3 separate regions of the Homo sapiens genome follow, and regions 2 and 3 are each linked to region 1. Evidence: promoter capture Hi-C in 16 types of primary human blood cells and fetal thymus (Javierre and others, 2016). All regions are on one chromosome and are shown on one strand. The core of a region is centred on a gene start or on the middle of the fragment in contact, and the rest is flanking DNA. Distances in the headings are between cores, read along the strand shown. Region 1 holds the start of API5 (apoptosis inhibitor 5). Region 2 overlaps HSD17B12 (hydroxysteroid 17-beta dehydrogenase 12). Region 3 holds the start of EXT2 (exostosin glycosyltransferase 2).

The links. The method cuts DNA at HindIII sites, captures the fragments that hold promoters and counts their contacts. A CHiCAGO score of 5 or more calls a contact.
Region 2: a fragment that was not itself captured here is called in contact with the fragment with the promoter of API5 in region 1 in 1 of 17 cell types (neutrophils); the score reaches 5.3 in neutrophils.
Region 3: the fragment with the promoter of EXT2 here is called in contact with the fragment with the promoter of API5 in region 1 in 2 of 17 cell types (total CD4 T cells and total B cells); the score reaches 6.2 in total CD4 T cells.

What each region holds. Positions count from the first base shown.
Region 1 is chr11:43,309,508-43,313,428 of GRCh38, forward strand. It overlaps API5 (apoptosis inhibitor 5), which reads left to right and starts at 2,489. Exons shown (of 14, transcript NM_001142930.2): 1 at 2,489-2,689. The coding sequence starts at 2,621. RefSeq lists an enhancer at 2,242-3,017. The HindIII fragment of the contact is 11,672 bases long and covers 2,314-3,921 here.
Region 2 is chr11:43,849,555-43,853,184 of GRCh38, forward strand. The region is part of intron 9 of HSD17B12 (hydroxysteroid 17-beta dehydrogenase 12); the gene reads left to right. Among named protein-coding and RNA genes, the nearest start is that of ALKBH3, 29 kb to the right of the region's middle. The HindIII fragment of the contact is 5,632 bases long and covers 1-3,630 here.
Region 3 is chr11:44,093,849-44,097,500 of GRCh38, forward strand. It overlaps EXT2 (exostosin glycosyltransferase 2), which reads left to right and starts at 1,830. Exons shown (of 14, transcript NM_207122.2): 1 at 1,830-2,004. RefSeq lists a silencer at 1,697-2,316 and an enhancer at 2,737-2,786. The HindIII fragment of the contact is 9,066 bases long and covers 1-3,652 here.

The sequences.
Region 1 (3,921 bases), core at 1,239-3,738:
TCAGGCTCCTCAAAATGGCCCCACGCTTGAGGGAAGGGGGTAGAAATTGCCCTCAACCTACTCACAAGACATCTTTCTCAAAAACATAAAAATAAAAAAATCACCAATTCTCATTTTATTCTCTAATTCTTTTTCTTTTTCTCCACAAGAGTCCAAATTGCAATTTTTTTTTTTTTTTTTTTTTTGAGACAGAGTCTTGCTCTGTCACCCAGACTGGAGTGCAGTGGCACAATCTCGGCTCACTACAAGCTCCACCTCCCGGGTTCACGCCATTCTCCTGCCTCAGCCTCCCAAGTAGCTGGGACTACAGGCGCCCACCACCACACCCAGCTAATTTTTTGTATTTTTAGTAGAGACAGGGTTTCACCGTGTTAGCCAGGATGGTCTTGATCTCCTGACCTCGTGATCCGCCCGCCTCAGCCTCCCAAAGTGCTGGGATTACAGGCGTGAGCCACCGCGCCTGGCCTGCAATTTTTTTTAACATTGAATTTTACACTTGATTTCTTATTTTCAGACAGGGGTCGTGCTGTGTTGCCCAGGCTGGACTTGAACTCCTGGGCCCAAGTGGTTCTCCCCGCTTAGCTTCCCAAATAGCTGGGACTGTTGGCTATCACGCTCAGCTCTAATCCTTTTTAGGATGTGAGATTTATCCTCAATCTAACTGAGAAGTACAAGAGCCGGGGAGTTCTTTTGTAATCATTTCCCGTGTATGTTCTGTACAAGTGGATGTGGCTTTGAAATTTACAGTCTATTATAGTTTGATATTTCAATCCTGAAATGTTAACATCCTTTAACATCCTTTTACACATACACACATAACTTTGTTTTGTATGCTTTGTATGTTTTACATAATGGGATCATCTTATACCTGCCTTTTAACTTTTCTTTTTCTTTTTCTTTTTCTTTTTCTTTTAATTTTTTTGAGATAGAGTTTTGCTCTGTGGCCCAGGCTGGATTGCAGTGGCATGATCTGGGCTCACTGCAACCTCTGCCTCCTATGTGCATATAATTCTTCTGCCTCAGCCTCTCATGCAGCTGGGACTACAGGTGCATGCCACCACGCCTGGCTAATTTTTGTATTTTTAGTAGAGACAGGGTTTCACCATGTTGACCAGGCTGATCTTGAACTCCTGACCTCAAGTGATCCACCCAACTCAGCCTTCCAAAGTGCTGAGATTACAGGCGTTAGCCACCGCACACGGCTATATATATATATAATATTATTATATAAATATAATTATCTTAATATATAAATATATATTATTATCTTAATATATATAATATATATTATTATCTTAATATATATAATATATTATTATCTTAATATATATTATTATCTTAATATATAATTATATAATAATATACAATATATAATATATATTATATATATAATTGTATATATAATATAATATATAATATATATTATAATATTAATATCATAATATTATATATGATATATAAATATAATAATATATTAATATATATTAAGATAATAATATTAATATATTAATTATATAATTAATATATTATATATAATATAAGATAATTATAATATATAATTGATAATATTGATATATTAATTAATATTATATCTCAATATATAGATATATTATAATTATATTATATAATTAATGTATTAATTAATATTATTATCTTAATATATATTAATATAATATTATTATATTTATATTATATATTATATATTTATATATTAATATAATATTATTATATTTATATTATATATTATATATTTATATATTAATATATAATGTTATATATTATATAATATATAATATTATATATTAATATATAATATTATATATTATATAATATATAAAATTATTATATATTAATATATAATGTTATATATTATATAATATATAAAATATTATATATTATATCATATTATATATATAATTTCATTTAAACTTGTATCTTAGAAATTCTTATCAGTAAGCGTACGTGATTTCATTTATTTATTATTCTTTTGGATACTGGACATAATCAGGTGGCCCCAATTCTTTACACTGGCAGCAAAGATAAGCAAATTCTTCCAGCAGGCCAAATTTGACCCCGCACTTGATGAGCGTGGTGGACACAGAGGGTTTTTTAATAGCATAGGAATGTTTTTTGCTTCCCACCGGACCCACTAGCCTCTAGTGCCACCGATTAATATTACCTTCCTTGAATCAGGAGGAAACCATTTGTGACTTCTCATATGTAAGATCTTCTAAGGGCAGAAACGCAATTGTCTTTGTATTCACTTCCCCGCCCACCCACACCCCTTCCATGGAGAGCCTGCAGCCAAGCTCAAGCTTTCAAAAAGGCGTGAGCTAATTCAATCATCCTTGCCGCTTTTTTGCTCCTCCAGGCTGTAGAGGGCGACAAAAACCGCGGAGGCGCATTGGGGTGGGGGGTGTCTACTGAAGGCCGCTCCCGACGTGCGCGTCTTTACGTAGACGTCGGGGGCGCAGCCGCGCTGTGCGCGGTGACTGGCGGCTGCACTGGCGGCAGCTGGAGGTGTAATAGTGCGGGTAGTGGGTTTGGAGAAGTTCCGAGGCGGCGGTGGCGCCGGTCAGGACAAGGATAGCGGAACCGGGCCCTGGGCTTGTCGCTCACCATGCCGACAGTAGAGGAGCTTTACCGCAATTATGGCATCCTGGCCGATGCCACGGAGCAAGTGGGCCAGGTGAGTTGAGTCCCCGGGCGGCCTGCAGGGCCTGGCGCTCCGCGGCCTTTCGAAAGCGCTTCCCGCCGCACTCCCCGGGCCGAGCGGGGGCTGCGGCTTCATCCTCCCGGGGCCTCCTAGCCTCCTCAGGCCGTCTCGTCGGGGTGGGCCTCTCTGGGAGTGTAGACTCTGGTTTCACCAGGGAGACCGCGGTCCCCAGGGTTCCAGGCTTCCTTGCCTCCCTTGCCCAGCCTTTTCTCACCGTGGCGTAACCTAACTCAGCCCGTTCAGGCTCACGTTAATTCTTCTCACGGAGCTTTTCTCTACAGGATTCTCTTAAGCCTTTCTCCTTTTCGGTGGAGCTCAGTGCTTCCAAGATTAGATCGGGAGTTTTCTTCATGAGGTCAAGATGTGTTTTTTTTGGGGGGGAGGCAAAATTCTGCTACTAATTGAAGAAGAGTGTTTAGGAGACAGAAGTTTGTGAGAAACAGAAGAGGGACTCTTTGGTCCAGACTTTGATGAGAGCTCACGGTTTCATTTATTCAGTGCATTTTTTTGAGTGCCGAGCGCTGGAGATACAGATGGAAAGGTCCGCGCTCTCCCAGAATGTACAGTTAGGAGGGAGTGTAGTAAGAAAGATAGGCATTGTGAGGCCCGGCTTGGTGGCTCACGCCTGTAATCCGAGCACTTTGGGAGGCCGAGGCGGGCGGATCACGAGGTCAGGAGTTCGAGACCAGCCTGACCCACATGGTGAAACCCTGTCTCTACTAAAAATACAAAAATTAGCCGGGCGTGGTGACACGCGCTTGTAATCCTAGCTACTCAGGAGGCTGAGGTGGGAGGATTGCTTGAACCCGGGAGGCAGAGGTTGCGGTGAGCCGAGATCGCTTCACTGCACTCCAGCCTGGGAGACAAAGCAAGACCCCGTCTCAAAAAAAAAAAAAAAGGTTTTTTTTAAAAATTTATTCTTTTTAATGAAACATGTTTGAAGAAAATAAAACAGGGCTGGGCGAAGGAGAGTGTGAGTGCGCAGCTCTGAATGGAGTTGTCTGGAAGAGCTCTCTTAACGATGCTTGCCCCCGATACACAGTTTCTCAGCAGTGTTGAATTATCCATACAAGTCATTTGTTCCCTGTATGAGTTTTCAAGTACTGGAGTACATTGAACTTGATAAGTGGTTGGGTATGTGTGTTCTTGGGAAAAGAACCAGGCTCTCCTGGAGGTAACCTTGATCATTGTTTTAGAAATCCCAC
Region 2 (3,630 bases), core at 371-2,870, 540 kb after region 1:
TCACCCAGATATTCTTTTGGCCAACTCCATCTCTTTGTTCAGATCTTTGGTTATAAGTCACCACATCAAAGGGGCCTTTCTTGAGAACTCACCTGCAGGCTCAGCCTCTATCAGCTCTTTTACCCAGGTATTTTTTTCATCTTGCTTTTTTATCATTGCCTGCCAATACTGTACACCTTTGTTTTAATTATTATTTGTTTGTGGTCTATATCCTCCTACTGAAATGTAAGCTCTGTAAGATTAGGGACTCTGTTTTTATTCACAATGAATTTTATTCATTAAGTTCCCATGCCTAAAACATTGTTCTAGTAGGTGCTCAGGAAATAGTTTAGTGTTAAGTGAATGCCTTTTGTGAGATTACACTGTTTTTCTTTTTGTTCCTTGAATGTTAACATACAAATTCCACATCTTTGGAGGTAGGTTATTTACAAGATTATCAGCCAACATTTATCAAGGATCTTTGTGTAGAGCACAATACTTTGAACTCCTTCATTTTGGATTTAGATGCTAAGATTTATATGTATTGTTATTGCAGGGCCTTTTTTCATTGCTATATAACCAGGGATCTCTGCACCAGCAGAACAACTCCTTTTTCCTAAAATTTCTAGAAAGTCTAAGGGTTTCTGCCAAGTAGATAATCAAGGGCCTTTATATGGAAAAGCTAATTTCGTGGTCTGCAAGTAAAGTAATACGCACTCCAAAACTATAATATAGGTGTATAATTATTTAAGTTTTTGTATACCAGATCCTGAAATCGTAGATGAATACACAGATTTCAGGAAATGGAGTTTTCCTAATATTCTTCATAGGAGCCCCAGCTTCTGCCTTAAGAGTGTGTGCTGGCTACACGGTTGAATTTAATGCTCGGTAAAGGCAGATGTGACACCATGTATGAAATCTCATACTGTGCAAATACACTAGACCCTAGTGTATTCTGGGTCTTCATTTTCCCAGGTCATTGTCATCTGATGTTCTGGTCATTTTTCAGTTGAAAAGCATGTTTAGTACACAGATGATGACACCTGAAAGATGCCCTACCATGTTAAGTTCCAAGGTTCAATCCCTGATTCTTGAATATCTGCCATGCAGTTTCAGGCATCTTTCTTTCCACTACTCCATGGCCATAAGCCTTCCTCTTCTGAATCAAGCCCCCTGAATTGTACTGTGCAGTCCAGTTATCTAAGCAAGCTGCTCCAGTGGGTGAGAAAAAAGATACCAAGTTGTCGGGCCTGGTGCGGTGGTTCATGCCTGTAATCCCAGCACTTGGGAGGCTGAGGCAGGCGGATCACCTGAGGTCGGGAGTTCGAGACCAGCCTGGCCAACATGGAGAAACTCCATCTCTACTAAAAATACAAAATTAGCCGGGCGTGGTGGCAGGCGCCTGTAATCGCAGCTACTCAGGAGGCTGAGGCAGGGGAATTGCTTGAACCAGGGAGGTGGAGGTTGCAGTGAGCCGAGATGGCGCCACTGCACTCCAGGCTGGGTGACAGAGCGAGGCTCCATCTCAAGATACCAAGTTGTCTCCAGTGATTTTATTTTTTTTATTTTTATTGTTTTAAAATAGGCTGAGCAAGGAAGCACCAACAGCTTTGCTTTATGGCCTAATTAATTATTTGCCATGTGGGAATGCTAAATTTGAAGACCAGGATACTTGCCCACATCTGCAGCTCTCAAGGTCAGGTTGTTTCTGAGCTGGCAATATTTGTAATGGGAACTTGTTGAAATTGAGCAACTTGAAAAATCTGTTCTGCCCACAATTTCCTATAAAAGTATGAGTATCTTCTTGACCTGTTTCCCATAATGTTTTCCTGAGTAAGCAGGAGAAATCAACTAATTATCCCTTGTTGGGTTTTTATTTAACAGTTGAAGGGTGTACCTAGATGGCTTTTTGATATCTAAGATATTTCTTTACTTTCATATAACTTGGAATATTTATTTTTAAATCATTGGCAAGTAGCTATAAGTATGCCTGTTTAGATAGGTGCTCTTATATATGCTTCAGAATTTCTAAAATTTTGGCTTAAACATTCATATTATCAACTTCTTGGTGTAATTAATTTTCTGGATCATAGCAGTGGAAAGAGACCCCAGTACTCTTCTTCGGTGCTGTCCATAATGAAGTGTCTTTCACCAATTCATTCAATAGATATTAATTGTACCCCTGCTATGTACCAAGTACTGTTCTAAAACATTAAAATATATGAATATGACCAAGCCTTCATGGAGCTTGTGTTCTAGAAATGGATACTGCCCAGTGATTGGATTCAGTTTTCTGTACCGTTTTGCCTCCCTCCTGCCACTCTTCACACATTTCCAACATTTGAACCATCCTGAGCTATGCAGTTCCCTGAAAAACATCATGCTCTTCTGTGGCTCCTTTTCTTGGCTCCTGCTGTTCCCTTATTTGTTTACAATTAGGGAAATTCTTGCACTTCATTTAAGACTTAGCTCAAACGCTGTTTCGTCTTTGAACCCTCCACTAGGCCATGTTAACTGCCTTGATTTTAAACCATCGTGGAAATAAATATACTTTCTAGAAAAGAATTTACATTTCTTAGCTGGAAAAACATAACCCAACTTGGAATTCCTGAGTATGCATCTCTTGTCCCCACCCCTTGATCTGGGGGTTCTCTAGACTAGCTCTATGGTTTAGCTGCATGAAGAGTTAACTTGTGGCACCACCAAGTGGTTCAGTCAGGCAGTGCAACTTAATTCTCCTACAAGATCAAAGTAGTCCAATTTATACCATGTTACATACGAAGGGAGGGAAGAAGATGGCAAAAAGGATGGACGAAAGGAACAAAAAATTATAACGCAGTTGAGAGGTATAATGATTAGACCATCTCTACCTCTAGAAGCTCAAAATCTTACAATACCTTTACCAGGCTTGTGATCTATATTTGGGTTTTTTTTTTTAATCTTCACTATTTTGTGACCTTTAAACCTAATGCATAGAAATGAGAAATGGTTTGCTTATGTTCCTTCATTATGTGAGATCAGAGTATTTACATATACTCTTTCTTTCCTTACTGCTCAACTTTACTCTGGGAAATAACCTTTTCTTTACTGACCCATTGTGAGAGCCTCACTGAACTCTGCATTTCCTACTCAGTCTGAGTCGGAGATCTCACCCTAGTGTGTGCTCTCATAGACTATATCCTTGTGGCAAAATGGTCCTTAAAAGATGTGACAAAAAATTTTTTTTTCTAAGTGAGGGATAAATATATAGTGATAATCCCAATAAACAAATTCTCAGAAATCAAAAGTTACCTAATCAAAGTTGGCTCAAATATTGAAGTACTTCATACTTAGTATGAGTCTGTGGCTGCAGCAACAAGGAAAGAGGAAGATAGAGAGTGACAGCACTCCATCTGGGGTTCTTGGTTCTAATGAAGAGGCTGAGGTTTCATCTAACCTGTCAAGGAGAGTGGGTTGCATTCCTTGACTTAGACTTCGGAGTGGGAAAAATGCAAAGCACACACGTACATAAAAACCCAGAGACGGCCGGGCGCGGTGGCTCACGCCTGTAATCCCAGCACTTTGGAGGCCGAGGTGGGTGCATCACAAGGTCAGGAGATCGAGACCATCCTGGCTAACATGGTGAAACCCTGTCTCTACTAAAAATACAAA
Region 3 (3,652 bases), core at 580-3,079, 780 kb after region 1:
AACTATTTATTGAGCAATTAACTATATGCCAGGCATTAGGCAAGTTTAAGGTTATAAAAAATGAAGAAGATAGGCAGCATTGTGTGAGGCTGTGCCTCACACAGTTCTTTAACACGGCAAATTCTCATTTTATAAAAGAACAAAGGATTAATTAAAAACATACATGTTTAAAATACAGATAAATATGGAGAAGAAAAAAAGAGGCCACAATCTTCCAGACCAGATAGCTATTGTTGACTTATTTCAAAAAGTGAAAACAATATTCCCTGGGATAAGATAAATTTGGATACAGTTCCAGTGGTGATTGTCACTGCTCTCCACCCATCCAGTTCTCAAATGGGGTGGGTGTGTGCTACATTTTGTATCATTTGCAGGGGGGATTTGATTTGGAAAGCAGAGCAATGCCCCCTTGGATGTGGGGAAGCAGAACATGAGTGTCCCATCCCCAGAATGTCCTCATCCCAATCTCCCTAGATCTGTGACAAGCAGGCATTAACTCACAAAAATATCCCTGGAATCGAGGTTGCTGCCGGAAGCCTCTGTAGGTATCTAGTCTCAGAATCATCACTTTGAATATTTAAGCTATCAGTGACAACTTCCACCAGATGGCGCCAAAGTACATCTGGGACCAGAAGGGATTTGGATCCTGTAGCCAGACCCACAACTCTACCAAACCAACATCGCAGGCCCAGGGGTCATTTCATTAACCTCTCAATAACATCGCTCTGAATTTTAATTTAATTTTTTAGTTTCCACTTACTGCTTTATGACAGCGGTTTTAGTGTGCATGGATAGGGCTAAATCATGTAAATAATAGAGAAAGATACAAAACAAAAATGCGTTTTTTTTTTTTTTTTTTGGAGACAGGGTCTTGCTCTATCACCCAGGCTGGAGTGCAGTGGCACGACCACGGCCCACTGCAGCCTTGACCTCCTGGGCTCAAGCAATCTTCCTGCCTCTGCCTCCTAAGTAGTTGGGACTACAAGCGTGTGCTACGATGCCTAGTTAACTTTTTATTTTTTGTAGAGATGGGGTCTTGCTCTGCTGCCCAGGCTGGTCTCAAACTCTTGGGCTCAAGCGATCCTCTCGTTTAGGCCTCCCCAAATGCTGGAATTACAGGCGTGAGCCACCTTTCCTCGCCATAAATGCTTCCATTTCCGCCTCGACAACTACTCCACCTGAAGCTGTTCATTTCTTCTTGCATTCCTTCCAGAAAAAAGTTATACACATGCCTGAATATAAGCACCTACTTTATATATTTCTCCCTCTTGTTTTTGCATATGCATAGTTTACCTAAAAGTGACTTGCCCGCTGTTTTGGACTACGCTTTGATCTTAACTAATATCTTGGAGATATTTCCTTACCCAAATATATTGCACTATCTCACATTACTCAAATCAATCAAATTCCATAATTTATTTCGATTGTGTCTAGCATTTCGCTATGATTAGAAAGAATGCTGTCATGGAACTTTTTGACAAACATTGTTGAGAATATCCATAGGGCAAACTCCGTACAGAGAGCTTGTTGGAATGAAGGGTACCAGCATTTTCCGTTTGATGGATAGTACCAAATTGCCCTCCAGGAATGTTATACGCTCACCAGAACTGATTATAATAAAACGTCTACATATTTGTTAGTTTTATAAGCAACGCGTGGTGTCTCGTTTGGGTTTAAGGATTCTTTAATTATGAATGAGGCTGTCTGAGCATTTCACTGCGGAGCCTGAGCGCGCCTGCCTGGGAAAACACTGCAGCGGTGCTCGGACTCCTCCTGTCCAGCAGGAGGCGCGGCCCGGCAGCTCCCGCATGCGCAGTGCGCTCGGTGTCAGACGGCCCGGATCCCGGTTACCGGCCCCTCGCTCGCTGCTCGCCAGCCCAGACTCGGCCCTGGCAGTGGCGGCTGGCGATTCGGACCGATCCGACCTGGGCGGAGGTGGCCCGCGCCCCGCGGCATGAGCCGGTGACCAAGCTCGGGGCCGAGCGGGAGGCAGCCGTGGCCGAGGTAAGCGCGGCTCTCCAGGGCGGCGGCCGGGCGGGCGCTGAAGCGAGGGCTCGGGCCTCCGGGGGCCGCTGCTGGGTCGGGACAAGGGCCGAGGGAGCGCGGCCGCGCGGAGGCTCCGTGGAGGCCCGTGGGCTGCGAGAGGCCACCCCCAGCCCCGCCGGGGCTGTGACAATGACTGCCCGCTTTTGGAGCGCTCCGATTTCCACTCCTGCTTCTCCTTCTCCTCCGGCGGCGGCCGCGCTTTCAGCATCTTGGTACCCACCTGTTCTCCTAGCCAACCTTCGCCCCCAGTCCGCTCCTTCCTTTCCTCCTGCGACCCGCCCTCCGCCCTCCGCCGTGACCCCTCCCTTCCTGCTGCCACCTTCCCGCCAGCCACAGGGATCTGATTCCTCCCAGGGGGATGTCCTGCGCCTCAGGGTCCGGTGGTGGCCTGCGGCATCCCTTGCGGTGCCAGAAGCCGTGGGACGAGGTAGGGAAGGGGCCAGGGGCATGTTATGCCGGGGACTGGGTGGTCGGGGGCGTGTTAGGCCGGGGACTGGGTGACCGGGAACTAGATGGCCGGGGGCGTGTTAGGCCGGGGACTGGGTGGCCGGGGTCATGTTGGGCCAGGCACTAGGTGGCTGGGGGCGTGTTAGGCAGGGGACTGGGTGGCCGGGGGCCTGTCAGGACGGGGCAGGAGTATGTTAGACTGCGGACTAGATTGCTGGTGGCATGTTAGGCCAGGGACTAGGTGGCCCGGGGGTGTGTCGGGCCGGGGCCAGGGGCATGTTAGTCTCGGGACTAGGTGGCCAGAAGCACACTGGCTCTGGGCTTCAACTTGAAGTCCAGAGGTGTTTGGGGCTTTGTTACATTCGGTGGGAACCAGATCTAAACACACAATTTTGAGAATCAAAGAATTGCTTGGTGTTACTGATTGGGCAATGCTAATCTAGAAAGGTTCTTGACTTATTTATGTGAAGATATGGTCTTGAAATATGTACATTTAAATTCTTGTAAGTCTTAACTTCTTGTAAGTCAGGTAAGTGCTCTATGTACTTTAACTGGACTTAGTTTGTAACTTTCAGAACTCAAAGGCTATTCACTGTAATAAAATAGATGATTCAGTTTCCATCATTCACTTTCCCCGACTTCCTGGTTGCATGTGAGGGTATGAATGGATAATCAGTTTTGGGGCCAGACTGCCATGCTGTGAATCCTAGCTTTGGCATTTCCAGTTGTGTAATATTGGGCCAGGTACTTAAACTTTCTGTTGTACTATCCCCATCTGTAAAATGAGGGTAATAATAGCTTGGCTTATAGTGCTGTTATGAAGATTAAATAAGTTAACACTATAAAGTGCTTAAAACAGACCCTGGCATGTAGTAAGTGCTTAGTAAGATTTACATATTAATTATGTAATGACACACATTGTCTTATGGTATAATTCCCATGATTAAAAGGGCATTGTTTTTAATTGAAAATAATTTTTAGGGGCATTTAGCCATAACATAACTTTAATTATAAAGAATCCTATCAAGTAAGGCAATGAATTGTGGCTTTTTTTGCTTTTGCTTATATTTGGTTCCTCTGTTTTTCGGAATGGTTGGGTTAAGATCCAGTGTGGCAGTGGCCCCAGGAGTTCAGCTGTAAGGCCCTTTCTAAAAAGGTT